3 separate regions of the Homo sapiens genome follow, and regions 1 and 2 are each linked to region 3. Evidence: promoter capture Hi-C in human tissues and cell types (Jung and others, 2019). All regions are on one chromosome and are shown on one strand. Each heading gives the region's core, a stretch centred on a gene start or on the middle of the fragment in contact. The rest is flanking DNA. Distances are from core to core; before and after follow the strand shown. Region 1 overlaps ARB2A (ARB2 cotranscriptional regulator A). Region 2 overlaps ARB2A (ARB2 cotranscriptional regulator A). Region 3 holds the start of POU5F2 (POU domain class 5, transcription factor 2).

Region 1 (2,774 bases), core at 130-2,629, 37 kb after region 3:
TGCCAAAATCGCTGATTGCTATTCTGGTAAACAAGCATGTATTGTGTATTTTTAGATGCTTGCTTCCCTGGTTGTGCACCATGGAATCCGTCCTCACTGTGGAAAGATCCTTGACTGGTAGATCAAGTGTCTTATTGTATTTCCTTAATTCATTCTGTCTGGAAGAAGATGTCAGCTGTGTTGCAGTGAGGAGAGAATTTCAAAGGCCCCAGTCCTCACCAATAAAGGCCGAGGAATGGCTTTTGAATAGATTTGTCAAGGCAACCCTACTGTTCTGGGACCAGGGAGAGCAGGAATAACATAAAGGAAGGGTTGCTGTATGAGATTAGAAAGTGAAGTTCACAAAGCATGGCAGATTTTTGTAAGAAACAGTAGATCAATGAAACTATTGAACTGTGTAGGAAAAAAAACATGAAAACAAACATAACATCTAGTAATGTTCTTAAATACTTTCTCTCTTTTTACATTTAAAATGGATAAAATATTAGTATTTTTCATGCATTACAAAAGCTTGATGGTTTAAAATGGATACATATTCTATAATGTGCTCTCCTAATCTTAATTAGCAGTTGAATGCAAAATTACACAATGTAAGAGTAGAAACTATAAAAGAAATAGGGTTTTAGAAGATATTTCATACATTTGAAATAAGTAAAATTAATATTACCATTGATAGAATACCACATCAGAGAGTTCTAGATAATGCAGAAGATTAGCACACAATTAGCCAGCTTTTATATACAATGTGACACTTGCTTGTAAGAAATAAGTATTCTCCAAAGCAGTGTCAAGATATGTAAATGGATGATTTGTTTTATCATTCATCACAGCCCCTAATAAATTCAAAAATCATGACTTCTATAGGTACTAAAAATAGGCTCCCAATGATACAGGGAGATAGCTTCAATGAAGAATGACTTTCTCTTTCTCTCTCTTTTTTTTAAACAATTCAGTCTTTTCAATGACAGCAATTAGCACTACCGACAGACAGGCAGCGATTAGGTACTGTATGTATTTTAATTATTATTCATCCAACTAGTACCTCCAAATCTGATGAAAGTCAGCTATTAACCAGGTGATATGTCGGTCTTCCTACTGCTCACCTACACTTCACATATGTAAAACTATGTCTTATAGGATTTTCTAGTATTAATATAAGTGATGGCACATTACAGTATGCAGAGGATTAATCATTTTCTAAATTGTTACTTTAAAAAGCTGAACAAAATGAACTTTTGTCCAGTTTGCTCAGCTCACCTTTAACTCAAACACTTAAAGCAAAATATAAGTTAACATTTTATGTTTGTAAAATTTCAGTTTTTATCTAGCCACATGTTTAAGGCTTTGATCTCTCATAAAAACTGGACAGAAGTTTAACATCCTATAATTAAAGTGAGTATGTCCAAAAGTTCTCTGCAATGACCAAGTACCTGTGCAGAACTATACAGATTTGATATGGTCATTTCAGAGTGTGTGTGTGTGTGTGTGTGTGTGTGTGTGTGTGCGCGCGCGCGCGCACGTGCAGGGGCATGTGGCATTTTTACCCCAAAAAGTATATAGAAAAAAGGGCAAAACAAGTTAAATGTTTGCTATATGATAGAGCATAATGAAATAAAATAAACATATGCAAAGAAAGACATACAGCTATTATATCTAAATTCAATCTGTCTGAAATGTTATTTTATCAAATCTAACTCCCTATTCTGAAATGTGTTACTATAGTTTAGAAGTCAAGTGTCTTTTGGTGCTTTTCTAATACTTACGTGTCCCTTTTTTCAAGGCCCCCGTTTGTCCCCATCCCAATTTTTAGTTGAGATGAACACTACCAAAGTGTTCCGAGTAGTGATGCAGGCAGCCCACTAGGAAAGCCCTATCTAAATTCAAAACATGCTGGACAGGGTTAGCAGCCCCTGAGATTTATTCTCAGGTCCCCTGAATAGGCAACAAGGTATGTTGAACTCAAGGTACCAATAGTGCCATGCTTGAGTCTCAGATGCAGCCTCCCCTAGTCCCAACAAACAAGCATAGAGAAAGAAGTCCTTGGCCAGGGCGGGCAGATAGGGACAGATCGCATGACTAATGTTTCTCTGGGTCTGAAGGAAAAAGAGAAAAATAGGTAATGTAGAAAGTATTTCTTAAAGCTAAGTGTTTTCAGTTTAAACATTTTTTTACCCTAAAATGATGATCCTATAGATTTTTGTGGTTGTAAATTTTCCTTTTTGTAACATCCAAAATTTGGGGAGCTATTGATATGGATTAGAAATGCCTACAGGCCCCAGTGCTGAGTGATTCCCTTTGACATTTGAACCAAGGGTCAACAATATTTCAGAGTAGGTTTGAAATAACTTTTTTTAAATAAAAACATTACAATTTAGTATATTATATTTAAAGAGAAAAGCAGGTAGTAGCTATTCCTGTGCAAGGTGTCTGGAGGTATTTGGAGATGCTTACTACCTTGGTTGAGGCTTGATTTTTATTCATTTTTATTGCATTTGTCTGAGTTGTAAATCGCCATTGCTTTAAAGGCTGATTTTTAATGTGAAAGGTTTTGTGTCCTCGGACAAATACAACTATGGTTCACTAGGTCAAGTTTCTAAAGCCCTACACTCAGAGTTGAATGGTGATAGGAAGGGTTCACAACTATTATGTAGAGCCGCACATCTGGTGTGGCTGGAGAATTTCAGAGGCCAGGGGTATGTTGGGAAACATTTGCCCACTCAGCCTAGACAGTCCTGGGGTTTGAAGTAAGAAGTAATTCAGGAGCTGCCTTCATT
Region 2 (2,700 bases), core at 137-2,636, 62 kb before region 3:
CTAAATGTGGCCGAGTGCGGTGGCTCACGCCTGTAATCCCAGCACTCTGGGAGCCCGAGGTGGGTGGATCACTTGAGGTCAGGAGTTTAAGGCCAGTTTGGCCAACATGGTGAAACCCCGTCTTTATTAAAAATACAAAAATTAGCTGGGTGTGGTGGCAGGCGCCTGTAATCCCAGCTACTAGGGAGGCTGAGGCAGGAGAATCGCTTGAACCCAGAAGGCGGAGGTTGCAGTGAGCAGAGAGCGGGCCATTACACTCCAGCCTGGGTAACAGAGCAAGACTTCGTCTAAAAAAAAAAAAAGCAATATAACTGAGGTTTTTTCTAAACAAAAGTAATGAGCATACTAACAAGTTAATGGCAAGCCATTTTGTAAATATTACCAACAGGGACTTCAAAGAAACACTTTGAGATGGTCCCATGTGAACTGAGGATTGTGTGTTGGTTTTCACTTGTTTCCTGATACACAGATGAATTACCATCGGCAATGTTTTTCTTAGACATAAAAACCATATACCTATTTGCACACTACAAATTCAAAGAGTGCTTTTAACGTAAAAAGTGGAATATAAGTGACTATGAAGTTCATAACAATTTCTAAAAAATGAAAATAAAAGCATAAAGTAGTTGCTTTCTTTAGATAGGGAATCTTATAAGAGATATGAAATTCAACATCTACTGTACTTTAAGCCTATATCTTATTGATAATTTAAAATTATAATTAGTGTTCTTGGGACTGAATGCTACATAGAAAACTAAATATGCACATATGTATGAGATGTGAGATGCTGCTGCAGGAGAGAAATACCCTATTTTTAAAGCAAAAAAAAAAAATCTTAGTGAAGTCTATCCTTTCATTTATATGTCTCATGTAAATTACACATAATTTTAAATCTTCAACACGTCGAAAATGTCCAGGTCTCATGGCACTTCTTTATTATCTTCGATTTTTCACTTGGCCATGGCAATGGAGGCTTTCTAGAAATATTTAGGAATTAAAAATGATATACTTCAAATTGAACTAAGAAATGACCACTAGACAAAAATTAATTTTTATTTATATAATCTGGTTAAAAAATATATGATTTTTCTACTCTAAAGGCATTTTCTTATGCAGTAACACCACAAAAATAGCTTAAGTTTAAAATAGTGGATTTCCCATATGGTTAGTCCACAGCAAGATAAAGTTGTAAATGAGGGGACTATGTGAAGAAAACATAAAAAAGCCTTAAGGGCACATGCAAAAAATGTGATATTGCATGATTTACATACACAATTTTATGCCCCAAAATTCAAAGAGAAAAACTTAATATGTCATAACTTAAACTGTATTTCATATAAAGTATTCCTGATTACGTATTTAACTCAAAGATACATAACTCAATTTAGAGCATAATGTGGGAGAGGAGTTAGTAAGAATCTAACCTTTTGCATTTCTTGACTTTTTTGGGCTTGTGGTAATGTTGTATTTATAGAGATTCTACACTTTCAAATTTAAGTCTTGAAATGTCAAAAAAAATCCCAAAGCTGAGATCTCACAGAAGGTGATTTTTAACAGTCCTTAAAAGTAAAGACTTATGATCTTCTGACAACTGGAGCTTTCACATTTTAAGATTTAAAAATTTCAGTCCTAATATTACATAAGCATACACATCGACACACTTTCAAAGATTCCATCATCTTTGATAGGCCTGGAACGAAGAGGAAAATAAGAAAACAAAAAGTTGTGAGGTTCAGGAATACTGTTTAAGTATAAATATAAAGAAGTAAATACTTAAAAACTCTTGTGTATTTAAAGGTGGTCTCTTATAAGAATATATTTCCAATGTAAATCACAACATCTAGTTAATTTTTGATTATTTGTCATAATAAAAAATGGAGATTCCCCCAATATTTTAGAGTTATAACTAGAAGAAACAGAGTCTCAGAGAACTTAAGTGATTTGATCAAGATCATAATTGCTAGTTAGTTTTAGAGTTATGTCTGGAATATACCAAGTATCTTGTCTTCAAGTTTCTCCTCACTCTCATAGCTAAAATTTTCAACATAATTCTTGGAATTCATTTATTTTCAATGTATCCTGCTATCATCCATGTAATTACAGGTATGCCACAAACTGTTTAGTTTTCTCATCACTTTCAAGTCAACAAGTATTTTTCTACCACCTACTATCAGCCAGATTTAGAGATTACAATGATGGTAAGACAAAGGTTAATCTGATTATTGGGTATTTTATGGTCTCATGAGGGAAAGAGGATTGGCAAACAAGTATCATTAAAGGCACTACTTAATTTGACCAGAAAGGTGTCAAAGTCAAAGGTAACATTCGGTTTCTGATTACCAAGATTAAAGACAGGGTCTGGACTAAATGATGTCTCAGTACCTTTCTAATGAAGTTTTGAGTTTTATCTTTCCCTTTCTTCTATTGTTTCTTAGATAGATTTATAAATAAGTAGGTAATTGATAAGACCAAAATTTCCAGTAATTTCAGTGGAACACAGTGATATGTTTATGAATAGGTACACAATGAACAAAGCCTTTTATCTGCAAATAAGTTTGTGAAATTATGGATTTCTCTGGCACAGGCCTTTAATGTGTTAATGTGTAGTGTATCTCCAAGAAGAAGATTTTATATGTAATGTTTCCTTTTTTTTCCAGTCAAGAAAAAAAAATCCCCCAAATAGGTGCTTTTATTACTATT
Region 3 (2,974 bases), core at 82-2,581:
ATAACAGACACAATATTTAATAAAAAAAGGAACAAAATATCGAAACCATCTATATACTGTAATGTACCTTTAAACCAATGCTAGGGAAAAACAAAGGGAAAACACAAAACTGCAATAAACTTCATCTTCTCTCCCAGGTTTTTCTTGAACAATTCCCACCCCCATTCCCTACTATGTATCCTTAACTTCTTTAGACAGTGAATGAGAAATTAATACTAAAAGCCCTCAAATGAACCCTAGGGACATTTCCTGGGTTTTCCCTTCTTCTCCCCTCTCCAACCGTGCCGTGAAGGGCAAGCCCCTCAGCCCTAAAATCTGAGGAGGCCCAGAGTGGTGGCTGGGGCAGAGGAGTGGGCTACCCCTGCAGAGTAGAGACGTGTATAGTGGGGGATATCCACTGGGAGCCCCAGTCCCAGGTGAAAGCACACTGGTGCTCCTGGGCAAGGAGGCCCGGCTGTCCCCACAATCTCCCGTGGGGAAGCATCATTGGTTGGTCGACTGCCCATCTTGCTGCGGTTATAGAACCAAACTCGAACCACATCCTTCTGCAGCTGGAGGCACCCAGCAATGTGGCTGATTTGCTGGGGTGTGGGCTTAGGGCACCGCTGGAAGAATTTCTCCAGGCTGTTTCCGATTCGTCGCTCTCTGCTTGCCCGTCTCCACTTCCCAGACTGTTGCAGGATCATCTCCATTTTGCATAAGCCCAGAAGGTTCTCTGCTTCCACTTCCTTCAGCCACTTTTTCAGCAGTGGTCGCAGCTTCCACATGTTGGCGACGCTTAGCTGCTGGGCCTCGAAGCGGCAGATGGTCGTCTGGCTAAGCACCTTCCCAAACAGAGCTCCCACAGCGATCCCCACATCGGCCTGCGAGTACCCTAGGCTCAACCTCTTCTGCCTCAACTCCTTGGCCAATTGCTGCAACTCTTTCAGTATGCCCGAGATGTCCTCTGGCGGCGGCAACTTCGGAATGCTCCGCAGGGCAATGTAGGGCCCCGGGAGGGCGCCTTCGGAGGGGCGTCGCAACCAGTCCCCTGCCTCACTAGCTCCAAGACGGGGCCTGCAGGGTGCTATCCAGCCCCGGAATTCGTGTGGCAGGGGACCCAGGGGAATCCTCCACACGTCAGGGCCTGGGCAGATCCCTGGCCTGACTGCCGGCCAGACCATCACCCTGCCAGGGGCCGCCTGGGTGCTCAACCAGGTCAGAGTGTCAACCCGCAGGGGCATCGGCCCTCTGGGGCCGCCCCCACCACTGCCTGGAAGGGGGCAGAAGTGGTTTGAGGGCCTGTGTCCGGCCATGGGTGGAATGGCACCCGCAGCGGCTCTGGTAGGAACTGATGGCCCTCGAGGCTTCAGAACAGCCACCGGCCCCCTCAAGCCCCGCCCCCCAGTGGGCGGAGAAGGCGTTACAAGCCAAGGGTGCCTGTGCGTAGGCGGGGAAATCTGGTAGATCCATAGGAACTCCTGGGTCCTAGGGTTAAGGGAGTGAGCCCCCTACCCTGACCTTTGCTTCCAACTCCCATAGAGGTACAAAGCTCCCTTGTGGGATTTGCATCTCCAAGCTGTCTGGAGTCCCTTACTCACTGCCTCCATCCCCTGCCTGAATAGAACCCAGGTATTTTCTTATGCCTGTTCAGAAACTCTGGACCCTGATCCCCAGGAGCTACCTAACCTCTTGTCTTCACAAATAATTATTAAATATCTATATGCCAGATATTGCTGGGACGACCCCTCAATTCATAAACTGCCCCCTCACTACTATCTTTATGGTCACAAGTACTGCCAACAGTTCCTCTTTGCACATCCCCAGTCCCTGTGCCCTAAGAAACCTAGGCAACCCTGCTTGAGTTTCTAGTTAACATCAGTTTACTACCTCAGATTCTACCCCCGACCCCACCCCCAAACTGCCAGATTCCACTCCCTCCCTGGGGCAGAACTTTGTAACTAATTCCATGTTTCTTCCCCTAGCCTTGAAGGTCCTTTTGTTTCCCATTCTAACCCAGCTTCTTGGTCCAGAGTTTCCTCAACCAACAGAGATCTAGGTGTGTGTCTTCTCTTTCCCACTCTAGAGACAGGTCTCTGAACTGGCCTGACCCACTGTCCCCCACTGAGGATGCTCCCTGCAATATATGACTCACCAACATCAGGCTCCTTTATCCTTAGGCCCTTATCCCACCAGAAACCCAACAATCTTAATTTGTCCCTCCATCATGCCCCTAGCTCAGGCATCCAGTTGTGGGCCCTGTGTGCAGAAAGCTAAGGAGGGAGGGAGAAAGAGAGGCTCTGACCTCAGTTTCAATGTTTCCTAGGAGGAAGAGCACAATGACCTTGGCTAGACAATCATAGCCCTTCATTCTTTAAACCAACCATGATGTGGCTCTGTCCCCACCCACATCTATTGAAACTGGTCTTCTTGAAGTCATCAGTGATTTTTCAGCTGTCAAATCCAATGGCCTTTTAAAAAATCCTCATCCTGCTGTATCTGGCTATAGTGACAACTCTTCTTGCTCCTTCTCCTTTTAAAATTTACATGAAATGGTGATAACAGCCAAATCTGTATTTCAGTTCTGACTTCTCTTCTGATTTCCAGTTTTGTATTTTTCACTGCCCCAAGTCAAATTCATTATCCACACTTCTAAACCTACCTCTCATCCCGGGACTTTTGAACTAGTTATCAATAACTCAGTCATCCAAGCTTAAACCTAGGAGCTGTTCTTGACTTTTTCTGTTCTCCACAGGGTGTCAAATCTTATGTACTGGGACTCCTAAAACATCTGAAGTCTACCATCTCCTTCCTAGCCTCATCTTCCTGGGCCCTTAAATACCTCTTCCTAGATGAAGGCAGCACCTTGAGACTAAATTCAACCCAACACTACAGGTTGGGTTGCAGATATGGCCTTGAAGCAATGGTAAAGGAAAAAGAATCAGAAAATTGGCTGCCATCGCTACAGGCTGTGTACTTAGTTATGTGTCATCTG

What was found. The method cuts DNA at HindIII sites, captures the fragments that hold promoters and counts their contacts. A contact is called where the count stands out against the background at its distance.
Region 1: a fragment that was not itself captured here is called in contact with the fragment with the promoter of POU5F2 in region 3 in 1 of the 25 tissues and cell types used here (H1 embryonic stem cells).
Region 2: a contact is called between a fragment that was not itself captured here and the fragment with the promoter of POU5F2 in region 3, in 3 of the 25 tissues and cell types used here (H1 embryonic stem cells, hippocampus and mesenchymal stem cells).

Annotation. Positions count from the first base shown.
Region 1 is chr5:93,777,622-93,780,395 of GRCh38, forward strand. The region is part of intron 9 of ARB2A (ARB2 cotranscriptional regulator A); the gene reads right to left. Among named protein-coding and RNA genes, the nearest start is that of POU5F2, 37 kb to the left of the region's middle. The HindIII fragment of the contact is 3,965 bases long and covers 1-2,774 here.
Region 2 is chr5:93,678,466-93,681,165 of GRCh38, forward strand. The region is part of intron 10 of ARB2A (ARB2 cotranscriptional regulator A); the gene reads right to left. Among named protein-coding and RNA genes, the nearest start is that of MIR2277, 59 kb to the left of the region's middle. The HindIII fragment of the contact is 9,368 bases long and covers 1-2,700 here.
Region 3 is chr5:93,740,269-93,743,242 of GRCh38, forward strand. It overlaps POU5F2 (POU domain class 5, transcription factor 2), which reads right to left and starts at 1,332. Exons shown (of 1, transcript NM_153216.2): 1 at 1-1,332. The coding sequence starts at 1,295. The coding sequence ends at 309. All of the region lies in intron 10 of ARB2A (ARB2 cotranscriptional regulator A), which reads right to left. The HindIII fragment of the contact is 4,314 bases long and covers 1-2,974 here.